Linked DNA regions of Homo sapiens: regions 1, 3, 4, 5 and 6 are each linked to region 2. Evidence: promoter capture Hi-C in 16 types of primary human blood cells and fetal thymus (Javierre and others, 2016). All regions are on one chromosome and are shown on one strand. Each heading gives the region's core, a stretch centred on a gene start or on the middle of the fragment in contact. The rest is flanking DNA. Distances are from core to core; before and after follow the strand shown.

What was found. Contacts are between HindIII fragments. The CHiCAGO score rates a contact against its expected background, and 5 or more counts as called.
Region 1: a fragment that was not itself captured here is called in contact with the fragment with the promoter of ZNF500 in region 2 in 3 of 17 cell types (fetal thymus, erythroblasts and monocytes); the score reaches 7.9 in fetal thymus.
Region 3: a contact is called between a fragment that was not itself captured here and the fragment with the promoter of ZNF500 in region 2, in 1 of 17 cell types (neutrophils). The highest score is 5.9, in neutrophils.
Region 4: a contact is called between a fragment that was not itself captured here and the fragment with the promoter of ZNF500 in region 2, in 1 of 17 cell types (megakaryocytes). The highest score is 5.5, in megakaryocytes.
Region 5: a fragment that was not itself captured here is called in contact with the fragment with the promoter of ZNF500 in region 2 in 6 of 17 cell types (erythroblasts, endothelial precursors, M0 macrophages and 3 more); the score reaches 6.8 in erythroblasts.
Region 6: a contact is called between a fragment that was not itself captured here and the fragment with the promoter of ZNF500 in region 2, in 2 of 17 cell types (erythroblasts and M2 macrophages). The highest score is 5.9, in erythroblasts.

The regions. Positions count from the first base shown.
Region 1 is chr16:4,625,194-4,629,615 of GRCh38, reverse strand. All of the region lies in intron 1 of MGRN1 (mahogunin ring finger 1), which reads right to left. Among named protein-coding and RNA genes, the nearest start is that of MGRN1, 2.6 kb to the right of the region's middle. RefSeq lists enhancers at 2,942-3,470, 4,001-4,422 and a silencer at 4,299-4,422. The HindIII fragment of the contact is 1,102 bases long and covers 1,297-2,398 here.
Region 2 is chr16:4,765,912-4,769,902 of GRCh38, reverse strand. ZNF500 (zinc finger protein 500) reads left to right here and starts at 2,741. Exons shown (of 6, transcript NM_021646.4): 1 at 2,741-2,886; 2 at 3,827-3,991. The coding sequence starts at 3,925. RefSeq lists an enhancer at 1,423-1,502 and a silencer at 2,695-2,994. The HindIII fragment of the contact is 2,671 bases long and covers 258-2,928 here.
Region 3 is chr16:4,601,531-4,605,524 of GRCh38, reverse strand. No RefSeq gene overlaps it. Among named protein-coding and RNA genes, the nearest start is that of UBALD1, 11 kb to the left of the region's middle. The HindIII fragment of the contact is 8,608 bases long and covers 1-3,994 here.
Region 4 is chr16:4,987,934-4,991,758 of GRCh38, reverse strand. SEC14L5 (SEC14 like lipid binding 5) reads right to left here. Exons shown (of 16, transcript NM_014692.2): 4 at 3,479-3,610; 5 at 864-992. Among named protein-coding and RNA genes, the nearest start is that of SEC14L5, 32 kb to the right of the region's middle. The HindIII fragment of the contact is 7,545 bases long and covers 1-3,825 here.
Region 5 is chr16:4,929,708-4,933,833 of GRCh38, reverse strand. All of the region lies in intron 1 of PPL (periplakin), which reads left to right. Among named protein-coding and RNA genes, the nearest start is that of PPL, 5.4 kb to the left of the region's middle. The HindIII fragment of the contact is 3,713 bases long and covers 132-3,844 here.
Region 6 is chr16:4,514,211-4,518,587 of GRCh38, reverse strand. CDIP1 (cell death inducing p53 target 1) reads left to right here. Exons shown (of 6, transcript NM_013399.3): 2 at 3,924-4,013. Among named protein-coding and RNA genes, the nearest start is that of CDIP1, 22 kb to the left of the region's middle. RefSeq lists enhancers at 3,789-4,316, 4,317-4,377. The HindIII fragment of the contact is 2,041 bases long and covers 1,461-3,501 here.

The sequences.
Region 1 (4,422 bases), core at 598-3,097, 140 kb after region 2:
AGGTGTGTGCCACCACGCCCAGCTAATTTTTGTATTTTTAGTAGAGATGGGGTTTCACCATGTTGGCCAGGATGGTCTCAATCTCTTTACCTCATGATCCGCCCACCTTGGCCTCCCAAAGTGCTGGGATTACAGGCGTGAGCCACCATGCCTGGGCCCAAGATTTCTTAAACATAACTCCAAAAGCAGTATCCACTTAAAAAGCAGTAAATGAGACTTCGTCAAAATTCAAAACTTTTGCTCTTCAAAAGAAACACCATTAAGAAAATTAAAAGACAAGCCAGACTGGGAGAAAATATTTGCAAATCACATGGCTGACAGGAGAATCCTATCCAGAACACATAAAGAACTCTTTGTTACAACTCCGTAAGATAAACAATCCAGTTTTTGAAAATTGGACAAAAGACTCAAATAGACACTTTTCACACACACACACACACACACACACACACACACACACACACATACGAACAGAAAGCAGGCCAGGTGCAGTGGCTCACCCCTGTAATCCCAGCACTTTGGAGGCTGAGGTGGGCAGATCACCTGAGGTCGGGAGTTCGAAACCAGCCTTCCCAACATAGTGAAACCCCGTGTCTACTAAAAATACAAAAATTAGCCTGGCATAGTGGCCAGTGCCTATAATCCCAGCTACTTGGGAGGCTGAGGCAGGAGAATCACTTGAAACCAGGAGGCAGAGGTTGCAGTAAGCCAAGATTGCACCACTGCACTCCAGGGCAACAGAGCGAGACTGTCTCAAAAAAAAACAGAAAAGGCTGGGCATAGTGGCTCACACCTGTAATCCTAGCACTTTGGGAGGCCAAGGCAGGCAGATCACCTGAGGTCAGGAGCTCGAGACCAGACTGGCCAATATGGTGAAACCTCATCTGTACCAAAAATTTAAAAATTAGCCGGGCGTGGTGGTGCGCACCTGTAATCCAAGCTACTCAGGAGGCTGAAACAGGAGAATTGCTTGAACCCAGGAGGCGGACGTTGCACTGAGCCGAGATCATGCCACTGCATTGCAACCTGGGCGACAGAGCAACACTCCATCTCAAAGAAAAAAGAAAGCAGATCGCTGATGGGCTGAGGGTGGGGGTTGGGGTAGGGACTCTGCAAACAGATGGAAGGAAACTTTTACAAGGGAAATGTCTGCAATTGTGGTGATGACTGCACAATTCTTTTTTTTGTTGTTGTTGCTTCAATGTCCCCTCCTTTTTTTTTTTTTTTTTTGGAGACAGAGTCACACTCTATCGCCCAGCTGGAGTGCAATGGCGTGATCTCGGCTCACTGCAAGCTTCACCTCCCGGGTTCATGCCATTCTCCTGCCTCAGCCTCCCGAGTGGCTGGGACTACAAGCGCCTGCCACCACACCTGGCTAATTTTTTGTATTTTTAGTAGACATGGGGTTTCACCGTGTTAGCCAGGATGGTCTCGATCTCCTGACCTCGTGATCCGCCTGCCTCGGCCTCCCAAAGTGCTGGGATTACAGGCGTGAGCCACCGCACCCACCCACAATTCTTTTTTTTTTTTTTTTTTGAGACGGAGTCTCACTCTGACACCTAGGCTGGAGTGCAGTGGCGCAGTCTCGGCTCACTGCAACCTCCGCCTCCTGGGTTCACACCATTCTCCTGCCTCAGCTTCCTGAGTAGCTGGGACTACAGGTGCCCGCCACCACACCCAGCTAATTTTTTGTATTTTTGGTAGAGATGGGGTTTCACGGTGTTAGCCAGGATGGTCTTGATCTCCTGACCTTGTGATCCACCTGCCTCAGCCTCCCAAAGTGCTGGGATTACAGGCGTGAACCACCGCGCCCAGCCTTTTTTTTTGAGACGGAGTCTCGCTCTGTCACCCAGGCTGGAGTGCAGTGGCGCAATCTCGGCTCACTGCAGCCTCCACCTCTCAGCTTCAAGCAATTCAGCCTGCCTCAGCCTCCCGCGTAGCTGGGACTATAGACGCCTGCCATCACGCCCGGCTAAATTTTTTTGTATTTTTAGTAGAGACGGGGTTTCCCCGTGTTAGCCAGGATGGTCTCCATCTCCTGACCTTGTGATCCGCCCGCCTTGGCCTCCCAAAGTGATGGGATTATAGGCGTGAGCCACCGCGCCTGGCCAGACGACTGCACAATTCTATAATTTAACTAAAAATCATCAAATCATGTTTACAATGGATGAGTTGTGTGGTACATGAACTACATCTCAATAAAGCTATGAAGAGTAAAACAGATATAGTGAAAACAAAGCAAATATTAAATTCAAGCTGAGCGCTGCTGCAGAACATGCTGAAAGTTCCCTTAAGAAAAATGGACAGTGTTAGGTGTTAAAAATGCATATATTACCACCCAGTGACTCTTTCTCCTTGACATAATCAACAAAATTGACAGAGATGTGAAAAGAAAGCTTTCTCATCGGGTGATTGAATGGTCCATGGGGGCAACCCCTAAAATCATCTCAAATGTCTCCACGGTCCCCGGTCTGCCCTTGGGGAAACACACCAAAATGCTGCTGAGGCCCGGCCTGCCTCCCACCCTTGACCTGACGGAGTTCTCATTAAGGAGACAGGAGAGGCGGGGAGTCTAGGAAACCAGTGCGGCACAAAGGCAAGGACCAGAAGAGATGAACAAAGAGAAGAACAAGTATCTGCAAGGCCCCAGGGAAGGATGGAGAAGAGAAAGGGAAAAAGCACAGCTGGAGAGGACCTGTGGACTGGATGGGCGCAGAACACTGCTGGCACTGGCAACATGACCCAGGCAGCTAGCTGATGGGTTGCACCTGGGTGCCAGTGCCAACCAATAGTGGCTGACGCGAGTGTTCTGCGATGGATGCTCAGTGGGAGGGAGGGCCACGAGTGATTAGCAATGACATTTCAGCCACAGTGGGATCCCGAAGCGGGCTGTAAATGACATGTATGTTATTCTGTTCAGCCCAAGTGAAGAACGGACATCAAGTGAGCTCAGGTCCCAGGTGACAGGAAGTGCCACTCAACTTTTTGATATCTGTGTCATGCCACTGCTTACTATGATTATGGTCATTAGCTAGTCACTTATCTTCCTTTATGAGCAATTGTAGCAGCTACCATTTGGGGACTTCTGAGCCAGGTGTGGTTCTGAGGGCTGTATAAGCATCAGCCCGTTTTACAGATGAGGAAACTGGGACCCAGGGGGTTAAGCAACCTCGACCAAGGTCACTCAGCCAGAGGCAGGCTGGAAGAATATCAGAGATGAAAGAGGACAACAGCAAACTGCTCCATCTGATGTAGGGCCATCAGCCCTCGGAACCTCTAGGGAAACCCCAGGGTGGAACCACCCAAAGGCCAGGCTGACCCGCTGCTGGGCCTGGGATACAGCTGTGCTCTCCCCAGCAGGCAGGCAACAGTGCGTTCTGCCTAGCTCTGAGTCCATCCCCTTCAGAGTGCCCCCAAACTGTGCTGGTTCCCCTCACTTCATCCCAGTGGCCCCAGGCCCTCACCTAGTCACACCTTACAAAACCTGGGCAGAGCAGTTTTTCAAACCTGAGTGGACGTAAAACTCACATGGGGAATGGGTTGAAAATGCAGGTTCCCAGGCCCCAAGGGGTCCCAGGCAGGCCCTGGCATGTCTAGCAGTCCTCCCCCACTTGTGGACCTGGCCCACACTCAGAGAAATCTGGCCTGTGGGTGTCCGGAGACACCCAGGAGACTGAGACATCAGATCAGATGAGACGCCAGGATCTGAGGACCCAATCTAGATGTCCCCATGATGCCCAAGTTCTCTCTCCTCTTCCTTCTCTCCTTTCCACCACAAAGAACCCCACGAGGAGATGGAGGGTGAGACTTGGAGCTAGATGCTCCCAGTCAACACATAACTCATCAATAGAGGCAGAAAGAGAGCTGGGAACAAAGCTACGTGGGAGCCCCACAGCTGGTCCCGGTCCCAACTATGCTTCCATCCAGCTGAGATCTTGGCAGTCACTTCCTCCTTGGTGTCTTACGTCCCTCAGCCATAACACAGAGGCCCGAGTATCGGCTGGGTCCTCTCAGCAAGGACCCTGGCCCCTCCCGATCAACTATAATCGTCTCCTTGGGCCCAGCCCCACTCCTCCAACCCACACACCAAGAGCCTCCGTCCTGATGGGAGGGAAATTGCCCAAACCACTGGCTCGGCCTTCACACCAAGCCACTAAAGAAAGCGAAAGCCGGCCCCCGCGGTGAGGTCAATCTGATGACAATGAGAGTTTTCTAGGCAGAAGCGATGCGCCGGGACCCGCGCTCAGCACCCCGCCCCGCCCTCGGGGTTTCCCCCAGGAGCTCCCCCCTGTTGCAAGGACGGAGCTGAGGTGCCCGGGGCGAAGGGACTGCCCCAAGGTCACCCAAGCCGGGCAGTAGCAGCGCCAGGTACGGCTCGGGCAGGTTCCTCCGGGGCCCCCAGCCACGCCTAGGGATCGGGGC
Region 2 (3,991 bases), core at 1,492-3,991:
TGTCTCTTTACCATAATGGTGCCTACTGCAGGTGATGTTACCATCCCCATTGTACAAAGGAGTTATCCTTGTCTCCCTCCTCCACCCCAAGCTAATCAACCACCAAGCACTGTTGAATGTGCTCCAGGAATCTTGGCCAGATCCTTGTCAGTGACTACCACCATCACTAGTTACCCCAACTCTGGACCACTCCAGGAGCTTCCAGCTAGTCTCACTGCTCCTCTCCAGTCTTTCTGAGATCTGTACTCCACAAAGCTTCTTATCTGATCACGATGCTATCCTACTTAAAACCCCAAACTCTATTGACTCCAAGGATAAAATCCTTAATCCTCACCAGAGTCTCCAAGTATGGTCAGGCCTTGCCCATCCCTCCAGCCACATCTCCCAATCTCTGGTCTCCATTCTGTTCCTCAAACGCACCGTGTTCTCTCCGGCCCCAGGACCTTTGCACTTTTCACTCCTGCTGTCTGGAATCCTCCCCACCGGTTCCCCAGGTTAACCCTAGGCTGCTCAACTGTCACTTCCACCCTGAAGGTATCAGGTTCCCTCTTTTACGCCGCTTGCTAACATTTGCCAAAGAAGTGATTAAACAATTCTTCGTGCAATTTTGTCCACTGTATGCCTCTCATGGTAATTTTGTCCACTGTATGCCTCTCATGGCAAGCTCCATGAAAGCAGGCACCTGCCACCACTCCATCACCCGAGCGCCTAGTTAAGGGGGCAGTTGGGAGGACTCAACGTGCAGCGTTTATGCATTTATTATGCCTGGATGAATGGTCTTGAATGAGTTACAACCTTGAGGGTTAATGTCCCCCATTAACAGATATGGAAACTGAGGTTCAGGGCGCGCAAGGGAACCGCCCGCAGTCTCGACGACAAGGACGCTGCCACCGGGAGACTGCAGCCCCTTCCTCCGAGCCCCTGGCAGTGCCGCCACTTGAGGAGACCCTCCAGGCCGCCAACCCACCCCCTCTAGAGCGCCCAGGAATCTGCCTCCGGGGAGGGCGCGGGGCGCTCTGGGAAATGTAGTCCTGCCAGCTTCCTGAATCCGGCGTCCCCAAATTTGTTTCCGGCGGGCTGAGTCCTAGCCGATGCTTTGGGAAAGACGCGCGAGATTCCGGGGGTAGATCCGGGATGCGAGGCGGGGCGCGCATGCGGGGCGGAGCTTGTGCGGGGCGGGGCGTACGTTGAGTGTACGCCTGCTGTGTATGCTGCGTTGCTGCTCACCCGAACTCGGTGCTGGGACTCTTTCCTGGGCACCCCAGGCAGAGGGAAACTCCGGATCATGTTCAACCAAAGAGGAAAAGCAGCGAGAATCCAGCATAGGAGACGGGCCTTAGGATGCCCAAGTTAGGATTAGGGGCAAACTACGTTAACCTGGTAGTTAGGAGCTGAAGTTCTGGAATCAAAGATTTGGGTTCCAATCCCATTTCTGTACTTCCTGTTTGACCTTCTCTGGGGGGTTCAATACTTAAAACTCTCAGAGCTTCAGGGTTTTGTTTTGTTTTGTTGAACCGGTAGGTCTAGTTATAGTACCTCTATTACTAAATGAGGAAGAAACGAAGTACAAATGTGTTTTGCTTGCTTGATGCTCAAGAATTGATGCGACCGGGAGCGGTGGCTTACTCCTGTAATCTCAGCACTTTGGGAGGCTGACGTGGGTGGATTGCTTGAGGCCGTTGGAGACCAGCCTGGGCAACATGGGGAAACCCCATCTCTACTAAAAATACAAAAATTAGCCGGACCTGGTGGTTCGTGCCTGTAATCCCAACTATTCGGGAGGTTAGGTAGGAGAATTGCTTAAAACCGGGCGGCGGAGGTTGCTGTGAGCCAAGGTCGAGCCACTGCACTCTAGCCTGGGCGACAGAGTGAGACCCTGTCTCTAAATAAATAAATACATACATACAAGAATTGATACCTGGCTGGGCACACCTGTAATCCTGACACTTTGGGAAGCTGAGGCGGGAAGATTGCTTGGGCCCAGGAGTTTGAGACCAGCCTAGGCACCATGGTGGGACTTCATCTCTAACAACAACAACAAAGATTGATGCCCATTATTATGTTGTCAGAAAGAAGCAGGCAGGACAAGGGATATTTGGGGTTGGACGTTGTTGGGGGCCCTCTTGGGGGAGGGTGGGCGCAAGCACTTGGCATCTCTTCCAGTTTTATCTTGAACAACTTCTGCCTTTATTTATTTTATTTATTTATTATTTATTTATTTATTTTTTGAGATGGAGTTTCGCTCTTGTTGCCCAGGCTGGAGGACAATGGCAGGATGTCGGCTCACTGCAACCTGCGCCTTAGCCTCCTGAGTAGCTAGGATTACAGGCATGAACCACCACGCCCAGGTTTCTCCACGTTAGTCAGGCTGGTCTCGAACTCCCGACCTCAGGTGATCCGCCCGCGTCGGCCTCCCAAAGTGCTAGGATTACAGGTGTGAGCCACCGTGCCCGGACGACTTTGCTGGCTTTAAAGATGGAGGAGGCGGCCAGAGGAGAGCGGAGCGGGTGTGGAACAGTGACTGGGAAAGTAGCCCAGAGGCTGCAGAGTCGCCGCACGCTCGCGCGGTCACCGAGGTGCTGGACTACGTTACCCACAATGCGTGCCTTTGAGGACCACATTAACCACAGTGCACGTCGCGGACCCGCCCACTCGGCCGTGTTGCCACGCCCCCAACGGCCGGCTTAGCCAATGGTGCCACGGCTACGTTACCCACAATGCCGCCTGCGGGCCCACCCGCACGGCCTGGTTTGCACCCCTGGTTTAGGGTCTTCGGCCCCGGCTCTGGCGTCCCTGGCTGCCAAGCCTGAGGCCCGCAGTCCTACTCCCGCCGAGACCCGCCGCTCCGGTCCTGCCCCGAACTGCCCACGGCCGGCAGCGCTTCCAGTGAGTGCGGGGGGCGCGGGGACGCGGGTCCCGGCCGAAGCTTCGATTTCGCGGCCCGCGCCAGCACCCGGGTCTGTGCCGCGGCCTCGGGTACCGCTCACCCTCCACCTGAGGGATGAGACGGGAAAGCAGCCCGGCCTGGGGGTCCCAGCTCTCCCAGGACCCTGGAATTGGGGGGCTGTCGTGACCACCCACGCGGGGGTGCCTGACGGGGCCGCGTAGGGGCTTCAGGGTTCGCCAGACCTGGACACCGGGGATCAAGTTGAGGCAGAGTCTGCAGAAAGGCCCTACTTTTCATCAGATTTCCAAAGGAACCCCTTCCATATAGGACCCACTCTAATCATGGAAAATAACGATTCTCGAGCTCTGACCGCAAACATCCCTTTTAGATTGTTTTTGTTTGAGTCTCTCTCTGTCGCCCAGGCTGGAGTGCAGTGGCGCTATCTCAGTTCACTGCAACCTCCATCTCCCGGGTTCAAGCGATTCTCCTGTCTCAGCCTCCCGAGTTGCTGGGATTACAGATGTGCTACCACCATGTCGGGCTAATTTTTGTATTTTTTGTAGAGACAGGGTTCCACCACGTTGACCAGGTGGTCAACTCCTGAACTCACGTGATCTGCCCTCCTCTGCCTCCCAAAGTGCGGGGATTACAGGCGTCAGCTACTGCCCCCAGCCATCCCTTTTAGTTCTGTCAGCAACCTGTGTGTGTAGGTCCTGTTATCATCTCTGTTTGCCCAGTGAGGAAGCAAAGCCCAGAGCCCTTCAGTAAATTACCCGGGAATTAACAGGGGGTTAATAACAAAGATGACATTCATCCACTTCCTTTTCCTTTTCCATGGTGGGGTGAGCTGGCCTTGGAACCAGGGCAGGGGCTTCCCAGGCCAAAGGGCTTATCCAGCCCCAGGGCTGCCCTTCAGATGGTTTTATCGTCTCTCCACAGGGCCCTGAAAAAAACTCTCTTCCTGTGTCTGGCCAGAGGTATAGAGAGAGACAGGTTCAACTCTAAGGCCTGAAAAGGAACAAGGCCCACCGGAAGCAATGGCCACTGTCCCTGGCCTCCAGCCCCTGCCAACCTTGGAGCAGGACCTGGAACAGGAAGAGATCC
Region 3 (3,994 bases), core at 124-2,623, 160 kb after region 2:
TTGGGGAGGGCAGGGCTGGGGCTGGGGCTGGCAGTGCAGGTGTTTTCCGGCAGATGCAGAGGCCCTACCAGGTGTGCTTGGAGCCCTTGGTCGCAGGGGCATCTTACAAAAAGAAGGGGGCTGTGCACGTGGGCTAGGACTAACTCTAGGGGAGCCAGAGGTGGGCCTACGAAATCACCACATGCCCCAGACCTTGAATGTGACACAAAGAACCTGGAGCCTCCCATGACTTCTCTAAGCCTGGAAAATCGAAAGCAAAACCAACCGGAGGCCAGACACGGTGGCTCACACCTGTAATCCCAGCCCTTTGGGAGGCCGAGGTGGGTGGATCACCTGAGGTCAGGGGATCAAGAGCAGCCCTACCAACATGGTGAAACTCCATCTCTGCTAAATACAAAAACTTAGCTGGGTGTGGTGGTGCATGCCTGTAATCCCAGCTACTCAGGAGGCTGAGGCAGGAGAATCGCTTGAACCCAGGAGGCAGAGGTTGCGGTGAACCGAGATGGCACCACTACACTCCAGCCTGGGCAACGAGCGAAACTCCGTCTCAAGAAAAAAAATCAGGAGAGTTTATGGGAAAAGCCTCACTTCCGACTTATCTTGGAAACTGGAAGATTTGGTGCAAATTCCCTTAAGGCCATAACTGGCTGAAACTGACCATGGCACTGGGGACACGGCGTGGCCTGCCCCTGCCAGCCTGCTCTACGCCACCACAGCCATGCACGAGTCCAACTCCTGCGTGGGAATCGGCTGGAATCCCTGGAGGGGGTCTGTCTTTTCACCACGGGGAGCTTCAGAAGTAAATGCCCTGTCCAGTGGGGTAGGATGAACGGCGGTGGGCAGGGCTCCCCCTGGAAACGGCCGTGAAAACAGACGGCTTGTTCTGCAAGATGCTCTCGGTCGAGAGGGACTCACCAGGGGCTGCTGAGTGTCCCCAGGGTCTTTGCAGCGGTCCAGCCAGGGTTCTCTGAGAACACCCTGCGGTCAGCCACAGGGAACCAGGCTGTCTCCGAGGCTGACTGCGGGGCTGGGTGGGGCTGCTGTGGCCCTGGAGGTCTCTGAGGGGCTTTCACAGCAGTCCCTGGCACAGGACAGATGAGTCCTTTGACTCCGGTCTTCTTCCCCGAATACGGGAGACCTCCTAGGTTGGCCGGAATGGAGTTCTTTTGACACAAGGCTACTTCTAATTCCTGCGTTTGGAAAGTTCTCTGGGTTTTTGAGCACTGCTCATATTTGGACAACGGATGTATTTCAACAGAGCCTTAAAAGAACACGGCTGTTTTGGAGGTGAGGGGCTACCGAGTCCTTTTAGGGAGGGCAGAAATTGGGGGCCCCTTCCAGGATGACCAAGGACTTGTCAGTGGCACAGCACTAGGCACCGAGGAGCCTGCTGGTGAAATTCTGCTCTGCTTCCCGGGGTCATCTCTCATCTCCTGGGGAATTGCAAAGCCACGATCTTGATGGAGTCATTTTGTCCTCATCCCAGTGGAGCCACGAGCAAGGTGAGGGAGGCAGAGGAGAGAAACCCTTGTCTGCCGGTTGTGTGTGTGGAAGGTCTCTGCTTAGAGCTCGCACATCCATGGAGAGTCAGAAGTCAAGCCAGCCAGGACAGTGGGTGTGGGGGGTTGGAGGGAGCATGTGTTGGTTCCTGCGTCCCTAAGAAGTCGCTGCATGCCACGCCCTTCTGTCTGGTGCCTGAACTTCCACCCTGGGCAGTCCACTTTCGGGTACTCACAGTGCCCTTTTCCAACACACGTGCTGGCGTCTGTTGTTTATCCCTTAGTGTTAATGAGTTCATGGTCCTTGAAAGGGAGAACACGTTGAATGACCTTTCACTTGCAGGGGTGGGCTGGGATGGGCCTGGCAGTGTGAGGTGGTCACCACACAGCATCTCCTCTATTCCAGCAGCACCTCAAGGTGGGACCTTCCTTTCCCTTCCTGCCCACCCCATTCACAGAGCCCCGCGCCCCTCCCTCCTCTCCCCACATGACCAATTCATCTGTCTTCTTTTTTTTTGTTTGAGACGGAGTTTCACTCTTGTCCCCGGGGCTGGAGTGCAATGGCGCGATCTTGGCTCACTGCAACCTCTGCTTTCTGGGTTCAGGCGATTCTCCTGCCTCAGCCTCCTGAGTAGCTGGGATTACAGGCGCGTGCCACCATGCCCAGCTAATGTTTTGTATTTTTAATAGAGACGGGGTTTCATCATACTGGCCAGGCTGGTCTCGAACTCCTGACCTCAGGTGATTTGCCCACCTCGGCCTCCCAAAGTGCTGGGATTACAGGCGTGAGCCACCACGCCCGGCCATGTTGTTGTTTTCTGTCACCCAGGCTGGAGTGCAGTGGTGCAATCATAGCTCACTGCAGCCTTGATGTCCTGGGCTAAATTGATCCTCCCGCCTCAGCCTCCCAACTAGCTGGGACCACACACATGCACTACCACGCATAGCTATTTATTTTTTTGTAGAGACGGGTCTCACTGTTGCCCTGGCTGGTCTGGAAATCCTGGATTCAAGCAGTCCTCTAGCCTCTCCCTCCAAAAGTGCTGGGCTTACAGGTATGAGCCGCTATGCCCAACCAAGCCACAGCTGCTGCCTAGGGAGTAGCGCAGCTCCCCCTCCCAGCTTCCAAGGCCTGCAGGCGCCACCCCTCTGCACTAGTGTGGGTTAGGGGAGATTCTGCCTGCAGCTCCCACCTGGGACCCAGGCCAAGGCCAGCCTCCCCACACCCTCCCTTGGGCACTGCCTTCTTCCGGGACTGCTCCTCACGGGCCTGCTGTGGGGCCGGAGTCCCCACCTTCCCAAGCCCCCAGGTGGCCCGTGAGGATGCAGAGGAGATGCCCCCAGGCCTCGCTCCTCACCTGCTGGGCTGCAGAAACTCACTCCAGCCCTGGCTTGTACACCCAAGAAAGGGGCTGGGATGGTGCTCTGGAGGGGCCCAGTGGGGACAGGCAGTGAGGGGCACTAGGGAGAGGGGGGCCCAGCTGTGCGGGACCGGGGGATGCCCTGGGTGTCACGTGTCAAGATGGCCTGGCCTGGTGTCCCCCAGGAGCCCTCCCCTCCCAGCTCAGCAGAGCGGGGGCCACGCCTCACTGCAGTGGGAGGGGGTGGAAGTCACAGGACCCAGCAGGTTCAGCCTCCTGGTGGGGGCCGGCAAGTTGGGGCCTCTCTCTCTGTGACCCTGGGTGCCTTCTCTCCTGCCCACGGGCTGAGCCTCGGGTGGTGGCTGGAGGAGGGACCAGCAAGTCCCACCTCCCCACACAGAAGGCACTCCGCCAGTCCCCTCATCCACGGTCAGAAATGTGGAAGATTTTGTTCTGGGCAGAAATTGCCCAAAATACTCATCTGTGGTATAGGGGTCGGGGTGGGGGCCAGGGCTACACCAGACAGCACCCCCAAGGCAGCTTGGATAGGTGTCACCCAGGTCAAGAGGGGCTTGGCCTCATTTGGACACAGTCTTTGGAGAAAGAAAAGAGCAGCCAGGGTGGGGGGCGTGGGTCGCAGTGAGCTGGGCCAGGGACCTTGAGGACAATAGGAACAGAGTAGGCATGCAGTGTCCCCAGACTCCGATGGCCACCGGGGCCGGGGGAGAGACTGGAGCCCAAAGTCCCCCCCTAGGCAGCCAAAGGGAAGTGAAAGGGGAGCCCCCCTCCAGCTCCCTCCTGGCAGCTCCCCACCAGCCCCTCAACTCCCCAGCACCACCCCAGGGATCCAGTGGACACTGGGGACTATGGCGGCGGGTCAGGCTTCACCCCTGCACAGGGACATTGTTTTAGTCTCCGAGATGGGATAGAACCGTCAATAGTACAGAAGGAGAGAGCAAAACGAGACAGCGTTAGGGGCGAGAAAGGAAAGAGGGAGGAGGATTGAAAGGGAGGAAATTGAAGGGAGAGACAGGCAAACTGTCAGAAGGGGAAGAAATGAGGCCAGGAGCATTGTTGGGAGGGGGGCCTGGGGGAGCCCTCTGCTCTGCGTGCCAAGGCCAATCCCTGAATTGC
Region 4 (3,825 bases), core at 185-2,684, 220 kb before region 2:
CCCAGCCGGCTCAGGTCCCAGCCCCGACACGTGGCTATTGAGTGGCTGGATGTGTCTGGTCGGGATGGAGAGAAGCTGCGAGTGTCCAACACCCACCTAATTTCCAAGGCTTGGTACGAAACAAAGAATGCAAAATAGCTCAGTAATCAGTTTTTTGGGTTGGGGGTTGTTTTTGTTTTTGTTTATTTTTTTTGAGACAGTGTCTTGCTGTGTTGCCCAGGCTGGAGTGCAGTAGTGTCATCTCAGCGCACTGCAGCCCCAACCTCCCAGGATCAAGAGATCCTCCTGCCTCAGCCTCCTGAGCAGCTGGGACTATAGGCACACACCACCACACCCACCTAATTTTATTTTATTTTATTTTTTTAGAGATGGAGTCCACTATGTTGCCTAGACTGCTCTGAAATTCCTGGGCTCAACTGGGCCTCCAACCTCGGAGAATTAAGTTTTATATTGATAACACATTGTTTAAAAATTTGTTATTAAAGTTAATTTCATCTGTTTCATCACAAGAACGGGTTTTTACTCAGGGATGGATCTGAGGTCTTTAGAGCAAGCAATGATCATTTTATCTAAAAAAAAAAAAAAAAAAAAAAAAAGCACCACAGAATTATCTGTTGTCCAGATAATTCACCACATAAGCCTGGACATCTCATGGTGCCAGAGCGAGGATTAGGGTGCCCCTGTTACAGACCAGTTACTTTCCATCCATTATCTCGTGGTGATTTGGTCATTACTAGAGTACCCATTTAACAGATAACACTGAGCCCAGGAAGGGTAAGGGTCTTGCCAGGGGTCATGCAGCTGTTGATGGCAGAGCAGGTGTGTGCACCTTCCTCCAGTAACTAACGCAACCCACCGCTTACCCTCTTGACGTTGGCGGTGTACTGCTTCATGGCGATCTTCTCCAAGGCATTTTCAAAGCCAAAGAAAGACCGAATGTCCAGTGAGGCAGACTGCTCGAAGCAAGTCCAGTCTTCATTCTCAGGGTGGACCTGAAAGCCAGGCAGGGGTCATGCCAGGGACTCAATGTCGGGGGCACCCTGCCCTCCCCTAGGGCTCTCCCACTGACCTGGGCCCAGGCAGAGCCTGCAGTGGAAAGCAGATCAAGCCTGGCAACCCTGGATGGGGTAGCAGGACCAAGGGGCCCCCACCCAGAGAACGATGCAAAGTTCAAACTGTCAGGGAACAAAAAGCCTTCTCATGAGAAGCCGGGAGAATGTGGGTCTCAAATCTGCAGCCCTGCCCTTTCAATATTATACACATACATAGAAAATTAGTTAGAAATACTTATGTTTAGGTCGGGCATGGCGGCTCACGCCTGTAATCCGAGCACTTTGGGAGCCCAAGGTGGGCGAATCATTTGAGGTCAGGACTTGGAGACGAGCCTGGCCAACATGGTGAAACTCCATCTCTACTAAAAATCCAAAAATTAGCCAGAGATGGTGGTGGGTGCCTGTAATCCCAGCTACTCGGGAGGCTGAGGCAGGAGAATCGCTTGAACCTGGGAGGCGGAGGTTGCAGTGAGCCAAGATCATGCCACTGCACTCCAGCCTGGGTAATAGAGCAAGACTCCATCTCCAAAAAAAAAATAATAAAATAAATACAATTGTTCAGTGTATCATTTATATAATCTATAAATAAATTATATATCAATATTACACATAAAATTTAGATATAGATTTTTTAAATAGTTGTATATTATATGTTATCTATATAAAGATATATTACATATCCTTATATATCAATAAACATTTATAGATCTGTATGTTTGCAAAAAGAAAACTTCATTGGCAGAGCTCCTTTATGGATCCAGACCTAGTCCTCCTCAAACGTCTGTGGGCAGAAACATTACCAAGGAGTCTGTTAAAATATGCAGATTCCTGGGCCTGCCCCTAGACACTTCCAGGTTGGGGCCCAGGAATCTGCATTTCGCAAGCAGCCCCAGGTGCTGCTGACTCAGCTATTGATAGAACTCATTCTGAGAAACACCACACACACTAAGAGGGGTTTCAACAACTGTTGCTTGCCCCTCCCCAGAAGATCTGAACACCCTGAGCCCAAGCTCCTGGAGGACCCAAGAGGAGTTGGAGGCGTAGAAAGAAAAGGCAATGGAGCCGGGTACGGTGGCTCATGTCTGTAATCCCAGCACTTTGGAAGGCCAAGGTGGGTGGATCACTTGAAGCCAGGAGTTTGAGAATAGCCTGGCCAACATGGAGAAACCCTATCTCTACTAAAAATACAAAAATCAGCCGGATGTGGTGGCACATGCCTGTAATCCCACCTACACGGGAATCTGAGGCGTGAGAATCTGAGGCAAGAGAATCCTTTTAACAAGGAGGCGGAGGTTGCAGTGAGCCAAGATTATGCCAGTGCACTCCAGCCTGGGCCACAGAGCGAGACTGTCTCTCAAAAAAACAAACAAAAAAAAAAACAAAACAAACAAACAAACAAAAAAAAAAACACGTACAATGGTCTACCATTGCTATCCTGGAGTTATCATCGTGAAAACGATCCAGCAAGGCAGGATCTGCCAATGTCCCGATTTTACAGATACAGACAGTGTGGCCCAACGTCACTCAGCAAGAAAGTGGCAGAGCTGGGTCCCATCAGTGAATGCCTGCAGGTGCCTCATTCCAGCCTCTAAAGTCATCAAGATCTAGGCCCCATGGCCTCACCTTGGCAGACCTCACTCATGCTGTTCCCACCCCCAAAATGCTGTTCCCAGTCCTCCATGAGCAGCTCCTCTCATCCTTCAGCACTCAGCTTCAGTGCCCCTACCACCTTCTCTGACTCCCACACATCTCCCTGCTGGATCCAGCCTTAGCTGTGACAAATGCACACACACTGATTCCGTTTTGTTCCACTGGAATGGACCCTCCGTGAGGGCAGTGGTCAGGCAGCCTGGTCCACTGCTGGGTGCTCATCACTTGGCAGGGTGCCTGGCACATAGTAGGTGCTCAATCAGTATATACTAGAGAATAATTATGATTATTATTAATTATAGTCAAAGGTAACATTTACGTAGAACTTAATATGTGCCAGGCACTGGTCTAAAGGCGCCACATACTACCTGTGTAGTAGGCATGATTATTAAGCCCATTTCACACGTGAGGAAACTGAGGCATAATTTAATGAAAGAAGGAAGGAAAGGAGGGAGGGGAAAGAGGAGGGAGAGGATAGGGTTGTCAGATTTAACAGATAAAACACAGGATGTCCAGTCACGTTTGAATTTCAAATAAACAACAAATAACATTTGAGTATAAGTATATCCCAAGCAATATTTGAGACATACTAAAAAAATTATGGGTTGTTCATCGGAATGCAAAGGCAACCAAGCATCCTGCATCTTTCTTGACAATGCCCCAGGAGGGAGGGCTTGGCAGAGGCTCAAGGAATGTGGGGACACAGCTCTGGGCACAGGTGGGTGCCGGGCGCAGGTGGGTGCCGGGCGTGGGCGCTGAGGGTGGCCTGGGCTCACCGTGTAGCTGCAGTGCTCGTTCACCACCACGCGGTTGGCGAAGGTCTCATTGTGCGCTTCGATGAGGAGCGTCCTCTCCTTCCAGTTCAAGATGTTTGTCTGCACGAAGACCACGTGCTCAACACCTGCGATCTGCAAGGGAAGGGGCGGGGAGGCGGAGGTGGGTGGGCGGCGTGGAGCACACAGGAATGGAGAGCGAGTCCGGCGGGCCTGCCCCAGTCACCCCCTGCCCTGAGTCCCAGGTCCCTTGCGCCACCGCCCACCCAGCCCGGACCCAGGACACCAACCCCCGACTTCCGCCCTGCCGCCAACCCATCTTCACCACCCAGCTCCGGCCCTGGCCCCGC
Region 5 (4,126 bases), core at 739-3,238, 160 kb before region 2:
AGGCTGTGCACTGCACAATTCCATAGGCACTGTTGCTGGGTTTTAGCACGTGGTCGTGGAGGAGACGTGGACAACCTCCCTGCACTTGAGTCGCTGGCAGTCACATCACAGAGATAAGATGGAGTTAAGCTTCAGTACATGTATGGTTACATGAGCGTCGGACTGATGGGGCCAGGCAGGAGCAATGGAGCATAGAGCCGGACAGATGAGGTCTCCACCCTGGCCACTCACATACTTTGTGACAGGCCTCAAGTGAGAGTTGTCACAGTCAGAGCACAGATGCTGGGAGGTGAGGGAGGACTTCACAGAGGAGGCATCTGACCTGTCACGGGGTGGGATGGAGTGGCCAAGACCCAGCTCTGCAGTCAGGCTCAATTCTGCCTCTGCTTGAAAAGAAACATAGCATCCCTGAGCCCCAGCGCTTCTGAATTTGTTGAATGGGATTAATCTTGCCCCTCCACCCAGACCTGGGTCCCAGTAAACACCCAGCAGCCTGGCCTTGCCTAGACGGGTCTTGCAACACTGGGGCCGCCCTGATGGAGCGCTCCTGCATGGGAGGCAGGACCCCAGGCTTTGAGGGGAGAGCTGGCAAAAGGGAAGCATGCTCTACTGGGAGGCACCTGGGGTACCCTGAGCCTCTTAGTGGTTAAGAACACAGTGTTTTATTAGCTGGGCATGGGGGTGGGTGCCTGTAGTCCCAGCTACTCAGGAGGCTGAAGCAGGAGAATCCCTTGAACCTGGGAGGCAGAGGTTGCAGTGAGCTGAGATTGTGCTACTGCACTCCAGCCTGGGTAAAAGAGTGAGACTCTGTCTCAAAAAGAAAAAAAAAAAAGCAAGAACACAGTGTTTGATGCTAGCTGGGCATGAGTTCAGGCCGCAGCTCTGGGTCTCTTAAGCTGTTTGATCTTGGGCAAGTCACTTAATGTCTCCGAGCCTCAGTTTCTTCATCTATGAGGTGGGGTGACAACAGCAACCCCCAGTTGGTGAGGCTGCTGGGTAGATCAAATGAGGGGATGCACATGATGGGTCCAGCCCATGACCTGGTTCAGAGCGAGTGCCCGGCAAATCATAGCAGCCAATACTAGGAAGCACACACTGCTATTAAGAGTCATGACGGGCTGGGCGCGGTAGCTCACGCCTGTAATCCCAGCACTCTGAGAGGGTAAGGCGGACGGATCACTTGAGGTCAGGAGTTCAAGACCAGCCTGGCCAACATGGTGAAATCCCATCTCTACAAAAATAAATATTAAAAATTAGCTGGGTGTGGTGGCGGAAACCTGTAATCCCAGCCAGATACTGGGGAGGCTGAGGCAGGAGAATCACTTGAACCTGGGAGGCAGAGATTGCAGTGAGCCGAGATCACACCACTGCACTCCAGCCTGGGAGACAGAGCGAGACTCCGTCTCAAAAAAAAAAAAAAAAGATTCATGACTGAGCCAAGCCCAGAGCTGACCAGGGAGCTGACTCAAGCAGACACGCACATGCACCCATCGATCAGTGTTGGTAGGAACGCCTGATCGATATGGGAGGGGACCCATGTGGGTAACAGCTTAGAGAGAGCCGCCCCGCCATTTCTCAGGCACATACTGTGAGCCCAGCAAGGCCATGGATGTTACATCTCATTCTGACAGCGGGCCTGCCATGCAGGTGGAAGTGTCCTGTTTCACAGAGGGCTCACATTCACCTTGAGCTCACAGCTCACAAATGGCTGATGCTGGAAGTCCAGGGGGGCCTGGGGAAGCAAATGAGGCCTCCCCACTCGTACCTGGATCTGGCAGCAACTGTGCCTGGGGACTGCTCCAGGCCAAATGGTAGAGTCATTGGTGTTTGTGCTCACTGCCTCTACCCCCAGCAACCCCCTCTACCTCTCTTCTCTCTAGCTTTGCCCCTCCATCCCTTGCCCAGTTCTCTTGGAAGAAGGAATGAGACTGGATAAATTCGATTCAGGACAGAGCTGAGCTTACCTGGAGGAACAGCTGCTAATGGTAGCATTTCAGGCACTGTCGGGCGGATCATGTTGGGAAAGGGTATTTTGGGGGAGAGACTCAGCTCCGTCCACACCCTTTAAGCAATACCCTAAGGGTGTGGTTGGGGGAGGCCCTGGAAGTAGGGGACCTGGGGGAGAAGCTGCTTTAGAGAGCTTCCAAAGCTCCTCGTCTGGGGAAGAGAACCCTGGCTTCCCAGCGTGCAGCTGCTCTCTGCTCCCGGCAGGTCTGTGCCGGTGTTACCGGCACCACCTTGCATCCTCCCAGCCTGCCTGCCCCGGCCTGTCTTGGGAGCGAATGGGGAAACGGCCTCTGGTCTTTGTTCTCCCGGCTTCTGATGGGTTGCTGTGCTGCAGCCTCTGGAGCCCGGGAGGCCACCTGGTGCCCCTTTCTGCCTCCGGGTGGGACAAAGCTCTCTTCAGGTCCCAGCCCTGCCCTTCCCTACCCCAACCTATTTTTTTTAAGTGTTCTTTCTTTATTCTTTAGAGACAGGCTGTCACTGTATCACCCAGATTGGAGTGCAGTGGTGCGATCATAGCTCACTGTAGCCTTGAACTGCTGGGCTCAAGCAATCCTCATGCCTCAGCCTCCCAAGAAGCTGGGACTACAGGTGTGCACACCACCGTGCCCCGCTAATTTTTAATATTTGTAGAGATGGGGTCTCACTATATTGCCCACTCTGGTCCTGAACTCCTGGGCTCAAGTGAGCCTCTTGCCTTAGCCTCCCAAAGCACTGAGATTACAGCCATGAGCCACTGCACGCAGGCCCTTTCCCTTTAAATGGATCCCCACTTCTCCCTGCCTGCAGAGCCAGCAGCCCAGCAGGCCTCCAGTCCCTCTTCACTGTTCCTTCTTCCACTCCAGCGCTCCAGTCCCTTCTCCCCATGGCAGCCAGGGAGCTCCTTACGACATAAATCTGACCATACCTCCAGCTGCTTAACCCCTGCCCCAGACCTCTCTTTGCTCTTAGGCCCTGGGAGCTGGTGCCCTGCACATCAACATGTGCCTGTCACCGTCTTGTTTCCACGCTGTGCCCGGCCACAAGGCCTTTCCCTCTGCCATTCCTGTTGCCCAGAATGCCCCTCCCACCCCTTTTCACTGCTTCTCTTCCACTTCCAGGTTTACCTTCTGTTCCTCAGGGAAGCCTTCCCCAACCTCTCTGCTGGGGTAGATCCACCTATTCTATGGACTCCCCTTCTCCTTGGTAGCTCTTATCTCAGCAGCTATGTGACTCCGGGGTAGCCACATGTGGCTGTGTGGCTGCCTTCCCCCAGACACTGGTGCTACACGCGTGCTGAATGAATGAATGAATGAGAGTAAGCCATGGGGGACTGCTAAGATTCTCCCCTTCCCTCAGCATTTCAAGAGAGCATACATTGCCCTGCGCTTCACACCCCAGGACCAGCAGAGCCCGGAGGTGGGGATGAATGGGGCAGGGGTTCCAGCTAGTGGAAAGGAGTGCGAGGCCTGAGCAGGCTGCCCCCTGCCCTGTCCCCATCCAGTCACCTCCTGCGTGCAGGACGGTGAGCAGAGAGTTGGCTGAGTACACAGCTGGCAGCAATGCGGAGTGATAGTGAGATAAAGGAGGGCCCTGACCCAGCCACACAGGCTTCTTCAGGAGAGGTCCTCCACGCCGAACCCGGGGATCAGTTGGAGATGAGAGGATAAAGAGAGTGCAGTTGACAGAAGGTGACGGGGATGTGTGTATCCACGACCCGAAAAGGCATGACAGTGAGCAAGCAAAGCAAGTTGATGAAGGATGCAAAGATGATGCTTGCATATATACATTTTTAGAAACATACACAGAGCAATTCCACTTACTCTTCCTGAATGCAGATGTGTCTATGTATTGGAAAGCTTAGGGAACCAGGTGCAGTGGTTCGCACTTGTCCTAGCGCTTTGGGAGGCCAAGGCGGGAGGATGACTTGAGGCCAGGAGTTGAAGACGAGCCTGGGCAACATAGTGAGACCCTATTTCTACCAAAAAAAAAAAAAAATTAGCTGGGCATGGTGGTGCATGCCTCTAGTCTTAGCTACTCAGGAGGCTGAGAGGGGAGGATCCCTGAGTCCAGGAATTCAAGGCTGCAGTGAGCTGTGATTGTGCCACTGCACTCCAGCCTGGGCAACAGAGCAAGACCCTGT
Region 6 (4,377 bases), core at 1,232-3,731, 250 kb after region 2:
GGAAGGCAGCAGGAGGACGCATGTGGATATGGAGGGGTGAGGGGGAGCAGTGAGTAGCAGGCATGGCCCTAGGTGGGGAAGACACGGAGGAGCAACAGGGCCCTGCGGCCCCCGGTGAGGGGCAAAGAGAAGGTGGGCTCTGGTGTGGCCATCGAGCTGGAGGGGAAGCCAGCCCTGTGCAGGTCCAGACCCTTCCCTGTGGCCTGCATTTTCTGTACCCAGGTTGGGTGAACACCAAAGGAGGGCTATGCCCTGTGGGCTTACACCCTATCATCATGGGCAAGGCTGTATGTGGAATTCCAGAAATAGAATTTTTGAGCTCTAGGAGATCATAGGATTATATCTGTTGACTTTGATGAAAAGATGGGCCAGAGAAAGGCAACACCTGCATTCTCAGAGATGGGGTGTGTGTGCACACGTGTGTGTGTGTGTGCTCCCTGCAAGGGACCCAGGCTGGGATCTGCAGGTGCTTCAGTGACTCACCAAGCACAGTGCAGCTTATTTTCCTGGTCTGCTCAGAGCATCCCAGGGCCTGGACCATTCCCCGATGAGCAAGACCACTGCAGACCACAGTGTTGGGCCACTTGGTGGACGGTGGTGCCACCCAGAGGCGCCAGAGAGCATTTTCTGGGAGTCTGGGAGTTTGTAGCAGGGGCTGGCACTTATTCCAACTCAACGTATTGGAGCAGTTTTCCAGACGCAGGTAAAGCCCCATGAAAGGCTGCCCTCTTCTCCCCTGCAGGAGGGCACCTGGCAGGCTAGGAGCAGCCTGGGCAAGGGACCCCAGGACCAGCCCCAAGAGGCACTGCTGCTACTCCCTGTTCTGTTTTTTTTTTTTTTGTTTTTTGAGACAGGGTCTCGCACTGTTGCCCAGGCTAGAGTGCAGTGGCCTGATCATGGCTCACTGTATCCTCTGAGTCTTGGGCTCAGGTGATCCTCCTGCCTCAGCCTCCCCAGTAGCTGGGACTACAGGCATACATTATCATGCCTAATTTAAAAATTTTTCTTTTGTAGAGACAAGAGTCTTGCCATGTTGACCATGCTGGTTTCGAACCCCTGGCCTCAGTTCATCTGCCAGCTTCAGTCTCCCAAAGTGCTGAGATTAGATTACAGGAATAAGTCCCTGCACCTGGCCACTGCTCCCTTTTCTTAACCCTGTGCCATTGGAATTCACTGTGCAGGCAGGAGGGTGGGAGAGTCATGCTGGGGTCCTAGACTTATGCCCCGCCCCATCCTTTTCTAGGCCTCCATGTCTTCTGTGGATAATAAGGCAACTCAGAAGAGGTGTAATTTCTGAACACTTGGAAAGATGTTCTGTCTCCTGATTGCCAAAGAAATGCATATAAAAATAAGTGACATTTTAATATGAAAATTAATAACTGGCACTATAAATTGGCATCCTTTCAAAAAGGCATAAAATGCTCATGTCCTTTGACCTAGTCATCTCACTCTGACAAGCTTAGCCTGAGGAGATAATCTAACAAAAGGGAAAGAGCGGTGGACAGAGGTGTTCTCTTGTATTTCATGAAAGCAGCAAGTAGGGCCTTGCCTAAATGTCTTAATAGGGTTTGGTCAAGTATGCCCATTTTGTGGAATATTAATATCAACGGTCACGGAGTCTTGTAAGATGGAATATGTGTGACACAGCATTAAAAGGATTTACCAGCCTGGTCAATGTGGTGAAATCCCTTCTCTACTAAAAAAATACAAAAATCAGCCAGTCGTGGTGCCGTGTGCCTGTAGTCTCAGCTACTTGGGAGGCTGAGGCAGGAGAATCGCTGGGACCCGGGAGGCAGACGTTGCAGTGAGCCAGGATCGCGCCACTGCACTCCAGCCTGGGCAACAGAGCAAGACTCTGTCTCACAAAAAAAAAAAAAAAAAAAAAAAAAGGATTTAAAACTGTCAGGACAGCAACTATATTTTTATATGGTATGGGCTGGGCGCAGTTGCTCCTGCCTGTAATCCCAACACTTTAGGAGGCCGAGGCAGGAGGATTGTTTGAGGCCAGGAGTTCGAGACCAGCCTGGGCAACATAGTGAGACCCCCGTCTCTACAAAACAAAACCAAAAGGTACAGGTGCCTGTGCATACAGACCAGCAGGGACATGTGGAGATGGGCTGCAGTAGGACTAATTTTCTTTTCCCTCATTTTTTTTAAAAATAAGTTTTATTGACATAATTTACGTACCATTCAATTCACCCATTTAAAGTGTACAATTCAGTGGTTTTTAGTTATTCACAGAATCGTTCAACTGTTGCTACAATCGGTTTCAGAGCATCTTCGTTACCCCAGAAGGAGATTCCATGTTCCCCATTTCCCCTCTCCCCCAGACCTAAACAGCTACTAATGTACTTTCCGTTTCTATGGGTTTGCCTATTGGGGACATTTCATATAAGTGAAATCATACAGTATGTGGCCTTTTGTGTCTGGCTTCTCTCACCAAGCATGTTTTCAGAGTTCATGCTGTAGGGTGTCAGTGCTTCCTTCCTTTTTATAGCCGAATCGTCTTCCATTGTCTGGGCAGCCTACGGTTTTGTTTATCCACTTTGTTGATGGACATTTGGGTTGTTTCCACTTTTTGGCTATTATGATTCATGCTGCTGTGAACATTTGTGTACAAATTTCTGTGTAGACAGGTTTTCATTTCTTTTGGGCAGATAACTAGGGGTGGAATTGCTGGGTCATCTGGTAACTCTAGGTTTAACCTTTTGAGGAACTGCCAGACTGTTCCTCAAAAGGGGAACAGGGGCTGGCAGTTCTTCAAAAGGTTTGCAGGGGCTGTCCCCTACCAGCAGTGTATGAGGGTTCCAGTTTTTCTACATAATGCCTATTACTGTCTTTTTAAATTTTAGCCATCCTAGTAGATAGGAAATGGTCTCCTTGTGGTTTTGGTTTTCATTTCCCTTATGAAAAGACGCTCAGTAGTTTTTCATGTGCTTTTGGCCATTTGTCTTTTGAGAAGTCTTTGTTCAAATCCTTTTAAAAATTGGGTTGTCTTTCTGTTATTGAGTTGAGTTCTTTGTATTTCTTAATACAAGTCCTTTATCAGATCTATGAATTATAAAATGTGATGGTATCCTTTGAAGCACAAGAGTTTTTCATTCTGATGACATCCACTTTAAGTTTTCTTTCTTTTGTTGCTTTGCTTTTGGTGTCATATCTAAGAAACCACTGCCTAATCGAAGGTCATAAAGATTGATGCCTGCATTTTCTTCTAACAGCTTTTTGATCTCTTTCAGTTTTCAAACTTCCATGGTACTTTATAGTTGAACCCAAGAGCTTGGACTTGGTTCCTCTGGCCCTGCCCCTGATTTGTTAAACTTTATATTCAAACTTATGTGCCCTCCATCCCCTGCAGGTGCTGGGCTGTCTGGGAAACACTCCTTTCCCTGTATTTTTTGTTCCACTGAAACTGATTTTTGTCTCATTTTATTACTTTTAGCTAAGGTAACTGAACCCCACTTCCCAAGTCCTTTATGATGCTAAGTAAGAGCAAAAGCTTCCCACCTTTCTGAGCTGTGCTCAGAGAGTTTGGTGACAGAAATGAGGGAAAAGATTTCACTTGACTCTTCTTCCCCCTGACCCCCACCTCAACAAACAAACCAGAAGGGCACAGGCCAGAGCACAGCTTGCCTGGCAGTCCAGTCCTCATGCATGGGAGCTCAGGCCTGGTGGGAGGGGAGGCAGAGGGCCCAGCCGTGGCCCTTGGGTGCCAGCAGTCCTGGGGGAGGGAGGAAGCAGACCTGCGACGGGACCGAGGAATGGAGGGGTGGTCGGGTGTGTGGATGGCAGAGTGACAGCTAGGGAGAAGCCGGATGTGGAAGGGGAGGAACTGTGTGGTATGCCCAGGCCCCTGGGCCCAGCCCTGGCTTGGCAGCCCTTGCTCCCTGCTGAGGGCCCTGCCTTTCCTTCCCCTGAAACAGCTCCCGGAGCCCTGCCTGTTCCCTGTCCATCCAGGCCAGCAGCTGAAGGAGCCTCACCTGCCTCCCTTCTCTGAGTAGCACGGATTTGAGGTAAGAAATCCCCCAGAACCCCCATTCCCAGTGCAGCCTGTGGCAGAGATCGGTCCAGTGTCTCCTCCGACTGCCTTAGTGCCCGCTAAACGTTTGGGGAGGGGAGAGCTCGGTGCCAAACTGCTCTCGTGTGGGGCAAGTGCTGAGTTAGGCTCCTTGGGGGACTTTACCTCACTGGGCCCTGCTTCCTGGGTTCTGTCCTTGCCCTTCAGCTTCCAAACAGGGAAGAGCAGGTGACTACTGAGAGGTGAGGATGGTGGCTCTGGGCTAGGTGGCCCTGGGAAAGGTGGGGGATCCCCAGTGCCTGGAGGCAGACCCTTCTGAGGATGGTCACACGCCTTGTGCAGCATCTTGGCCACCCCAC